2 separate regions of the Homo sapiens genome follow, and region 2 is linked to region 1. Evidence: promoter capture Hi-C in human tissues and cell types (Jung and others, 2019). All regions are on one chromosome and are shown on one strand. Each heading gives the region's core, a stretch centred on a gene start or on the middle of the fragment in contact. The rest is flanking DNA. Distances are from core to core; before and after follow the strand shown. Region 1 holds the start of DYNLRB2 (dynein light chain roadblock-type 2). Region 2 has its middle 41 kb from the start of ARLNC1.

Region 1 (5,640 bases), core at 1,146-3,645:
TCTGTGTGTCAAGAAGACAGCCTGTGATATATTTACCTTCTGCATTTACAACCATAGTTCCAATAACCCCTTTATGACTCTGGATCCTCTTTAAGGTTTCCTCCACCTCTGCCTGAAAGAGACCAGGAAGATAATTAACCAAAAGGGCCCTGTGGTAACTTCAACCCTAAGGAGAATAATGTTTAGCAAGATACCTACTCTCCTATCTCCTTAACCTAAGGTGCCAGGTGTGATAATCTCAGATTTTTAAAAGACAGCTTAGAAATTGTCAAGTCCCACATAAATACCTACGTAAGACCTCCTGGATACAATCCTGATGAATCTCTTGGCTTGAACCCTTGTAGAGACAGAGAGCTTACTGCCTCACAGGAGTTCACTCCATTTTTATCTGTTTCCATTTACTAGAAAAGTATTCTTTACATTGCATGGAAATTTGTCCCAGATTATCTTTCATTCATTGACCCTGCTGTATTCAAATGAAAATTCCTTTTCTACATTACAGTGCTTTAAATATTTATAGAGCTATATCATGGCCTCCCTCTGTCTAAAAGTAGTCCTTATTGAGAAATCTTATTTTCATTAATGTGACCTAATCAGTTCGGATGATTAAATTTAAAGGATAGTCTATAAAAACAAAGTATTCCAGGATTCTAGGATTTTCTTGATAACTATAGCTTGCGTCTCAGTGCAAGCTGAATGTTCAACTATGAGTGATTATTCTGGAATCTATTATTGTGTTTTAAACTCATTCGGAATCTTATGTGTAGAGTGTATTGTATGTTTTCTTCCCCTGTAGAAAACTCAAAGACAAGAACGATCTTTTCCAAACCTGCAAATTTTTCATGACTGAGCAATCACTGGATATTTTGAATTCTGCAAATTCTCTTGATGAGGGTTTGCTATATTCTTTTTTCCTCAGTATTGCACAGGTGAACATTTTGTTACTTCAAGATAGTTTTCCTTTGTACTTGGTATGGGCAGGAGCACTTATTTTCTCTATTTCAGCATCAGAGCCAAGGTTTTCTTGACTTTAGGCATTTGTGTACTAGATTCATGATTCTTGCCATTATGAATGCCATGTATACTATTTATCTAGGTGTTCTTTAAATTATCTCACTGCTAAAAGCTTAAATAAATGCATTTTAAGAGGAAATCGTATGTCACTACCACAAATGGAAACCTGACGTTATTCCTCATAAATAGAAATAACTGTAAAACAAACAAAATGAACAAAATGAAGAGAGAGCCTATCATTAAATTCTACTGCAATGAAAGCTCTGAGCCTGAGGCCTGCTCTTCGGATGAAAAAATGGAAATTTCCAAATGACAGTGGTATTAAGGACCTAATAGCAACAGAAATTTTCTCCTGTATGTAGTCTGAAGGTTGAACAAAATGGAAGAGGAATAACTTTCTCACGATGTGATTCACTCTTATTTAGCATTTCTCGGCCATCTTATGTAGCAACGAATGTTTGCATCTGACTTTGAGAAACACTACACTAAACCGTAAGCGTTGAACAGGGGATCAATAATTCACTGCATTTTGGGCAATCTTTAAGACGATGTCCACAGCTTCTTACAGCCACTGTGTCCTTATTTATCTTTCTCCCTTTACTTATCTCCCAAACTCCTTTCTTTTCTTTCCCTGGCCTTTCCATTTCTCCACCCAGTTGTTTCTCTTCTCATGATTTGTAAGTGCTCCTAGTATAATTTCTTAATCCCCATCTCCAATCCCCGTTTCATTCTTCTCTTAACGCCCTTTGCTTTCCACAGTCTCTACTTTTTTTTTTCTTACCTCTTTTTCTGGGGGGGAGGGGGGCGGGTCTCCCATCACTTCTTTCCTTTTTCTTTATTTCCCTTTCTTCTTTCTCAGTATCTTCCCTTCTCACCCTTCCATTCCCTTGCTTTCCCTGTCCCACCTCTTCCTTCTCTCTAAGGGTCTGATTTTTTTTCCTCTCCATCTCGGCCTCCCGCCCCCTCTTTGGAAACTTTCCTGGCTCCCCGGATTTCTCACTCCCCTGAGCATTCTTCATCCTCTGAATCTCTCTCTTCCCTTTCTCAACATCACCCCTCCTTATGTACCATCCCCGCGAAATCAATTCCCAAAACAGCTTCCAGTCATCTAGACATCTTCTTGCCCCTTTCCAAGGTCTCCCTCTCGCCCCTCCAGGAAGATCCTGGAGCCACCAGCCTCCGCCGCGGCCCCTGGACCGCCCGTGCCTGGGTGGGCCCCAGAAGCTGGGTGCGAAGGTCCTTGACGGTCGGCGTGCTTGGAACGGCGGGGCGTGGACGGAGACCCCAGATTTACCATCGCGGAGGCCGCGAAACTCTGGGCTCAGGCCGGCGGCACAGCCTCCCGGGATGTCAACAACGCTACCCGCCGTTGCTAGGAGACAAAAAAGGAAGTGGCCCCACGGAAGCGTCAGGGCTGCGCCTGCGCGCTCGCGAGTCGGCTTTTTCGCCCTGACCGCGCTCCTGATGCCTCCCGGCCGCCGTAGGCGAAGGTTCGCGGAAGAGGGGAGCAGGCGCTCACCTGAGGTTCGCCCAATCCTGGAGCAGTGGGTCCCGGGAGGGAAGAGGGAAGTGGGTCAGGCTCCCGGCCTGTGTTTGTCCATTCATTCATTCATTGAGGCACGAATTAATGTGATAACCACTTATTCGTTCAAAAACTGCTGATTCACCACCCACCAGGTGCCAGGGAGACGGACAAAATGCACCAAACAAAATGCACGAAACAGTACCGGAAGCAGTAATGTCCACGTGTGATACTTGCCCTGGAGCAAGTAAGGAGGGGACAGGACCATCTGACTTCGGGGTTGGGCTGCTCTAGGGGTTTGGTGATAGTCTTAGCTGCCTGTGACCGTCCATTAGTACTGCCCTGTTCAGGGCAGATACTGTTCGCTCGCCTCCCAGTAGTTTTTATATTGAAGAAAAATATATCAGAGCATCAAATAGTACAACCTTATGTACTTAAAAAAATTACTTTCTATCTGTCTACTCTAAGATCAGTAGAGTAAGCACAGTTGCACATTTTATGTTCTCACCTAGTTATAGCACCCTCTTCCTGTTCTCAACTCCATTGAAGAGTTGCTACTTGTCAGTATTTCTGTTAGTTGTCAGTATCCATTAGGATCTGTATTTTTGCCATTTTAAAAATCAACAGTTCTGAGTTACTAAAAAATTGCAAATGGTAGTTCCGGAGGTTCTATACGTTGCCATAGAAGAGCATTCCATTGGGTGTTTAAGGAACTGTTGGAGGAAACACGTTAAAGATCAGTTAGGAATGATCAGAAGTCACTTGACCTTTTGAGGGACATTGATAATATCCTTATAGCCTAGGAGGAAAAGAGCCACTATTGTACGACGAAGCACAGCAGGAAAATTTTATGGCTGGAGTCGTGTTATGACTTCCTGAGGTTAGAGGAGGACAAATATTGATTACAAAATACAAGCTGTAAGTTGGGAATGCATCTTCATAGGGATCATGCCATAACAACTTCCTGTAATACCGATTCTGTTTGTGCATCCATTTCCAGAAAGTAGTCTCACACTGAACAAGGCATACATCGTGCTAGGAATGTCAACTGGATTCTGAATGGTCCATGTTAGGGGTGCTCTGGGACAGTTTTGAACTCATTGGCAGGCTTGGACTCGATGATCCATTTCAACTCCACATCTGTCATTTTATTATATTAACTACAGAAATACTCTGAGAAACTGTAGTTCTGCTCTAATTTTTGTTGAGGTGTGGGTGATTCTGATCACTGTAGTTCTCTCCTTTTTTTCCCTCCAAGAAATCTGTATATCTCAGCCAGTTCACTATTACTAGCCAAAGAATCCCGCTTGACTCTCAACACCTGGTACTCCAACAAAGTTGCTTTGGAAAGGACTGCTATAGCTGTGGGGAAGGAGTCTGAGTCTGGTGTGTGCGTGTGCGTGTGCATTTGTGTGCTTGTGTGTGTATGCATGCATGTGTGTACAGATCTGGCTCTTACCTGATTGACTATAGCTACCATTTTGCAGTAATACAAATAATAGGTCTTTACAGAAATACTGGCTGAGTTGAATGAAGAGTGATTCTTGGGTTCTCTGGGTGTTTCTGATCAAGGAGATTCCACTTGATTGTGTAGCCGTTTGTTTTTCTTACAAAAATCAGTGACAGTGCACCATGTCTGATATGTCAATCAGCTTTAATGAAGGAACCAACTGCATATGCATGGAGTGTGAATTTCCTTGTTTCTGGAGTCAGGATGTCAAGCTCATTCAATAGCTGACAGCTGTAATTAGAGCAAAGAACGATTCTAGCATAAAACGCACTGACGGGAGAACCCAACTGCTGAAAAAGAAATAAGAAGTAGCCAAACTGACTTCCAACCAACAGTCAAGTTTGACTCTGTGCACAGAAAATCAATGAGGAGAACTTGAGCCATTTCCCCTTTATCAATTTTTCACTTCTAATTATTCCTTGGAGGTAGCTCGGTTTAATTTTCATGCCTTTTTTGGACCTGTAATGAATATCCAGAGCTGTGCTATATAAAGTGTCTTTGCAATGTCTTACATGTTTCCTACTCCATCCCCAATATATGTGAATTCCCCTTTTACCCTCTCCTCTTTCTCCCATCCCCTCGGCCTTTCTTTTTGACTCACAATAAGTGCTAAATAACTTTGAACGTAAGTGAAAATATTAGTGAATAATAGTTTTTGCAAGTACTCTGACTTAACCCCAAAAGTGATACATGCAGAGACCAAGTCCACTATTTTTCACATATGATTTTGTTAGAAGGAGATGATTTTCTTCTGGGAGTCTCTCTTGCTGTTTGATACTTTGCTACTGCTCTCTGGTTAGCTTGAAGAAATCCAGATAACTTAATGATCTTGAGTTTTTTTTTTGGTATTTTCTATACCAACCCATATAGCTATCTTTGGCATTCTTGGCAGTTGGCAAATATTATGAACTGGGCTGTAGAATAAATTTTGTGCCCATTTTCTCATAAGGTAAGGCATTGTTTGTCACTTACCAGAACTTCTCCTGGTATTCTACTGGTTTCCCTCCAGAAAATAGACACTACATTCTTCTAACATGTTCACAGGCCAGGCATGGTGGCTTTCATCTGTAACCCCAGTGTTTTGGGAGCTGAGGCAGGAGGATTGCTTAAGGCCGGTAGTTTGAGAACAGCCTGGGCAACAAAGCAAGACATAATTTCTACTAAAAATCAAAAAAAAAAAAAAAAAAAGGCTGGGCGTGGTGGTATATGCCTGTATTCCCAGCTACTTGGGAGGCTGAGGCAAGAGGATCACTTGAGGCTGGGAGTTTGAGGTTGCAGTGAGCCACAGTTACACCACTCTCACTAGCCTGGGTGACAGAGTGAGACTTGTCTCAAATAAAAAAAGTACAATAAAATAATAAAATAAAATACTCCTTAATACTAGGGCATAATTAGAAGATACCAGTAATATCAATAAGTATTTCCTAAAACTGACCCAATGTCATAGAATTGCAGTATTATAGATTTTAAGTTTCAGAAAATCAATCATTTTCTTCTTCTTAGGACAAAGGCACCCTCTGGGGTGACTCCTTTCAAGACCTAAGTGTAATAGAAGTATTTGCTTTCCATAAGGGAATCCTTCCTGTTGAAATTA
Region 2 (5,640 bases), core at 1,202-3,701, 390 kb before region 1:
ACTTGAACCCAGGAGGCAGAGGTTGCAGTGAGCTGAGATCGTGCCACTGTACTCCAGCCTGGGTGACAGAGCAAGACTTCATCTCAAAAAAAAAATGCAGAATTAATTACACATACAATTTTAGGAGGTTCATAAAGCTCCAGGAAGCCAGCCCTGGGGCGCCAGGTGGAGACTCTATACCTGTGTTCACTTAACAGTTAACCTGGCTGGTGCTTTCGTGGGCCTTGCCAACTCTTTCTCCATGACCCTCTTTTGTGCAGGCACTCATGTCTGACCAGCCTTTCTTCTGTTGGACACATTCTATGTCAGGTAACTTAGAGTCTTGGCATGAGATATGCTCTCAATAAGTCTTTGCAATCCAGTCTTGCCTTCCAAAGGGCTATTCTGCCTCAAGTTGATCTCATACTTCTATTTTGATTCAGGACATATGAGTTTTAAAGTTTTTCTCTCAAAAGGATATTCTTATTTCAACATGCTTTAGCAGCATGAAGATTCTCTTGCTCGCAATAGATGGAAAGTCTGCATTCAAAATGGCATAGGCAGAGCCTGGTGTGGTGGCTCACGCCTGTAATCCCAGCACTTTGGGAGGCCGAGTTGGGCAGATCACCTAAGGTCAGGAGTTCGAGACCAGCCTGGGCAACATGGTGAAACCCAGTCTCTACCAAAAATATAAAAATTGGCTGGGCGTGGTGGCGGGTGCCTGTAATTCCAGCTGCTCGGGAGGCTGAGGCAGGAGAATTGCTTGAACCCAGGAGGCGGAGGTTGCAGTGAACCGAGATGCGCCATTGCACTCCAGCCTGGGCAACACGGTGAGACTCCGTCTCAAAAAACAAAACACCAAAAAAACCCCATACAAAACAGAACAAAACAAAAACAAAATGGCTTAGGCAAAAACAGGGAATGGCTTACAACTAAAAAGTTCAAGAGTCATGACTGACTTCAGGAACAGCCACCTCTGTGGGCTCAGATGCCATCAGAACTTGTTCTCACTCAAGCTCCTAACACCGTCTTCCTTTGTTTTGGCTCCATTCTCAGGCAGTGTTTTCCTCATGGGGACAGGAAGCAGGACAGCTTCCATTTAATGTTCCAAGGGCACTAACAGATGAACTGTCATCTTCCCCTCAGCTCCAAACCTGCACCTAGCAGTTCCAGGCTTATACCTTATTCACTCTCAGAAATGTGAAGAAGTTCATTTCAAACCAGTTTCCCATGATCTGCTTGGGGAAAAGCAAACCTAAGACCATCTCCTTTCCCCATCTCCAACCAGAATGTACTTAGCCATTCTTCCTTAGTGATCACTGAATGAGTTCTTACTCTGCTGGAGTTGGTGTAGTGGGTGGAGGGGACAGATGGAGACATAAGTCATTGGGTAAAGGCAGTGCAGTAAAGTCTGTGCTGCGGCAGGGATGGGGAGCAGGTATAGTAGGGAACTCAAAAGGACTGCTACATTTTGCCTGTGGGAGTCAGATGATGCTTCTCTCAACGGGGGATATTTGAGCTCATTCTTGAAGCATGAGGAGGAGTTTTCTAGGTAGAGGTGAGGGTAAGCGTCCTTCTAAGTGGAGGAAATAGCAAGTGCAAAGGCTTAGAGGAGCAAAAAAGGCAAGGAGTGTCTAGGAAACAGTGAAAGATTTCACGTAGCTAGAGGAGGGTGCTTGCGTAGGAGTGCTGGGAGATGCAAAGAATGGGGGCAGAGTGGAAAGGAATGCAAAGCTTGTTATCATGATGTGGAGTCTGGACTTCATTCAGGGGCAATTGGCAGGGTACTAAAGAGTTTTAAGCCCCTGCCATAACTAGGTAGGCATTTAGAAAGATCACCCTGACTACAATGTGGAAGATGGGTTTGGAGGGGAAAGCCCTAGAGGCAGGAGGCATCTGAGAAGCTAGTGCCACCTTCCAGGAGAAAAGGGATGCGTTGACCTGAGGCAGGTGAAGAAGGAATGGACTTGCGAGCTCTTTAGGGGGTAAAATGGACAGACCTGGGGACCAGATGGATGGGGATGAGGAAAGAAGGGTCTAGGATGATTCCCAGCTTTCTCCACTGGGAAACTGGATGAACGGTGGTGGCCTGCACTAGCTGGGAGAGGCGCAGGTTTGGAGCTGAGGGGAAGATGACAGTTCACATGTTAGTGCCCTTGGAACATTAAATGGAAGCTGTCCTGACCTCATCTGGGTTCCTGAGTCTGGAGGTGGTGGGTCTGGAGGGGCCCATGAGGCTTGTAGGCTGTGGGTGGTGGTGTGCAAGCAATGATACCCTAGACAGGGTGTCACCACTAGCAAGAAAATGCCCCATGATTGTTATTATTATTGTTATTGTTTTATTCTGTCCTTGCATGTTCCCCTCAAGATTCCAAGTCCTGAGGAAGAGAAGGTCCCTTTGGCCTGTGGGATCATGGGCCCACTCTTGACTCAGGGAGAGCAAGAAACTCTGATTTTCAGCTACCTAAGATGGCACAGTGGGGACAAGGAATTTCTCCAGAAGAAATAAATATATTCACCCTATGAAGAGGAAGTACGTGTCAAGTGACACCAAAATGACAAATATCCACTTGTTACTTTACCGTTTATTTCAGCCTCAGTTGTCCGCATGGTGAGTGCACCTGCCCCTAGCACTGCCCAGAGGCTGCATGAGTGATTTCACCTAAAGCTCTGGCACTCTCTGTTTGTATCATAGCAATCGCTTTTGAAGTGTTTATTACTTTTATTTACACCAGTAATCCACAGCGTCCTTCTTTTTATTTTTATTAAATTAATTAATTAATTTTTGAGACGGAGTTTCACTCTTGTTGCCCATGCTGGAGTGCAATGGCACAATCTTGGTTCACGGCAACCTCCGCCTCCCGGGTTCAAGCGATTCTCCTGCGTCAGCCTCAGCCTCAAGAGTAAGTAGTTGGGATTACAGGCATGCGCCATCACGCCCGGCTAATTTTGTATTTTTAGTAGAGACGGGGTTTCTCCATGTTGGTCAGGCTGTTCTAGAACTCTCGACCTCAGCTGATCTGCCCGCCTCGGCCTCCCAAAGTGTTGGGACTACAGGCATGAGCCACCACGCCCTGCCAGCCTCATTCTTTAGTTAGTGGGCGTGGGGCCAAACTATTTCATAGGAAATGTTTCAGAAAAAAGGCATTTCCCCAAGCTTGTCTCCCGGCGTCAGGCACTACGATGACACAAATCGCTTATGACCAGCGTTCACCGATGGCCATAGCCCGGTCACGATCATAGAGCACGGTTGGCCGGCTCCTGGATCCGTCATGACGCGCCGGCAAAGCAGCTTCCTCCCGAGTGGATGAACTAACATTTTTATTGAGCACACACCACGTGCCGGCTGCTATGCCAGGCACTTTCACACACGTTATTTTATTTATAATCCTCACCTTGACCCTGAGATGTGGATGGCATTTTCTCCATCTTAAAAATGAGAAAAAAAATAGGGCTCGGAAGCGTCAAGTAACTTGCCCAAGGACACGAGCGGAAAGTGGCGGAGCCTAAATGACAACCTGGGCCTGCCTGTCGCAGGCTCTTTCCACCTCGGCACGAGGAGGGCGCCCGGCGTGTGCGCGCGCGCGGCCTCCTGGTGGTTCTCCCTCTGGCCTGGTGGGAACCCGCGGGGCCTTCCCGAGAGCGGCCAGGGCCCCGGAGCCCGGCTCTGCGCAGGCCGCTGCCGAGGTCCAGTTCCCGGGGGAAGGCAGCTTGTGCTCTGGGCGGAGAGCCCGTGGAGCGACTCGGGTTTAATAGACGCGCCGGTCCTCTTCCAAGAGCCTGGAAATCTGCAGAGGGATCCCGCCTTTCCAGGGAAGCCGGGCTGGGTGAAACTGACAGGTCTTGGCGCGCGGAGGAAGGGGTGGCGGGGAGCCCGGCCGGCTCCCTCCCAGTCTGCGCTCGCTGGCGGCTCCCCGAGGCTCCGGGCTTGGCTCCGCGGTACCTCTGGCTGCAAACACATCGGCCCCAGAAAGTAGGTCAGCGTGCGGCAAGCTCTGTCCCAGGCGGCGCTGCCGACTCCCCCGCTCCCCTGGCCCCCAGTCTCCTGCAGCCTCCCCGGCCTGCGGTCGGCGCCCTTGCCCTCCCCCCGGGTCTGCAGTGTCCTCCTCTCCTCTGGCTCATCTCCTACTCGCCTCCTGCCCTCTCTTTCGCTCTCTCCGTCATTTGAGCCCCCCTCTTCTCTCTCTCGCTCCTCTCCCCTTTCTCGCCTCCTGCTCCCCCCAACTCCGTCGGTCTGACACCCTCCCCTCCTTCTTCTCCTTTCCTCTCCTCTTAACATCTTGGCCCATTCACTTCTGGTAGCAGTAGTTAATAATACAACCAATCTGTTGTCTTTTTAAAGAGATACCGTGCTTGTTTCAAAGAAATCAAAGGACGTAGAAAAGTTTACATGTGGAAAAAAAAGAGAAAAATCCCACTACTGAGAAATAGCTTTAGTTAACACGGGATGCACGCTACTCAGATATATTTTTATGTATACATAGAGTTAAAGGATATAAATATTTTATAAAAATGAGACCACAAATAGATGCTTTTTCATTAAAAGTATTCATATTAATTTAATTTTGTTTGAATTCAATACAAAAAAAACTACAGTATAGTGAAGTGGAAAGAATTGTTGAATTTTATTTTATTTTAATTATTTTATTATTATTTCTTTTGGCGATGAAGTCTTTTTCTGTCGTCCAGGGTGGAGTGCAGTGGCGCCGTCTCGGCCCACTGCAACCTCCGCCTCCCGGGTTCAAGCGATTCTCCTGCCTCAGTCTCCCTAGTAGCTGGGATTACAGGCATGCGCCACCACGCTCAGCTAATTTTGAATTTTTAGTAGAGATGGGGTTTCTCCATGTTGATCAGGCTGGTCTCAAACTCCTGACCTCAGGTGATCCGCTCACCTTGGCCTCTCAAAGTGCTGGGATTACAGGCGTGAGCCACCGCGCCTGGCCACGCCCGGCTAATTTTTTGATATTTTTAGTAGAGTCAGGGTTTCATCATGTTGCCCAGGCTGGTCTCTAACTCCTGACCTCAGGTGATCCGACTGCCTCGGCTTCCCAAAGTGCTGGGATTACGGAGTGAACCACTGTGCCCGGTCTGTACCCCTAGTACTTAGAACAGTGCCTGTAACATCGTTGACACTTACAGGTACTTACTGAATGAATAAATAATTGAACATGACTTGGAATCTTGCCTAAAAAACCTAGGCACCAACTTCAACACGGTGATCCAAGTACCCAGCTTTTCCAAATCAGTTAGACTAGGCTTCTAATGAGAAGGACGGGAGCTCTAAGACTAGAGGACTAGAGGTGTCCTAAGGCCATTAGGACTTTTTTTTTTTGAGACAGGGTCTCGCTCTGTTTTCCATCTCTGGCGCCATCTCGGCTCACTTGCAACCTCCGCCTCCTGGGTTCACGCCATTCTGCCTCAGTCTCCTGAGTAGCTGGGTCTACAGGCGCCCGCCACCATGCCTGGCTAATTTTTTTATATTTTTAATAGAGACGGGGTTTCACCGTGTTAGCCAGGATGGTCTCGATCTCCTGACCTTGTGATCCACCTGCCTTGGCCTTCCAAGGTGCTGGGATTAAAGGCGTGAGCCACTGCGCCCGGCCTTAGGCCGTTGTTAACTTCTCCATTGGTAACAATGGAGAAGTGTTTATGTAAATGTGG

The links. Contacts are between HindIII fragments. The study calls those that stand out against the background at their distance.
Region 2: a contact is called between a fragment that was not itself captured here and the fragment with the promoter of DYNLRB2 in region 1, in 1 of the 25 tissues and cell types used here (dorsolateral prefrontal cortex).

The regions. Positions count from the first base shown.
Region 1 is chr16:80,537,748-80,543,387 of GRCh38, reverse strand. It overlaps DYNLRB2 (dynein light chain roadblock-type 2), which reads right to left and starts at 2,395. Exons shown (of 4, transcript NM_130897.3): 1 at 2,309-2,395; 2 at 37-112. The coding sequence starts at 2,311. All of the region lies in intron 1 of DYNLRB2-AS1 (DYNLRB2 antisense RNA 1), which reads left to right. RefSeq lists an enhancer at 2,255-2,344. The HindIII fragment of the contact is 10,411 bases long and covers 448-5,640 here.
Region 2 is chr16:80,930,485-80,936,124 of GRCh38, reverse strand. No RefSeq gene overlaps it. Among named protein-coding and RNA genes, the nearest start is that of ARLNC1, 41 kb to the right of the region's middle. The HindIII fragment of the contact is 5,223 bases long and covers 1-5,062 here.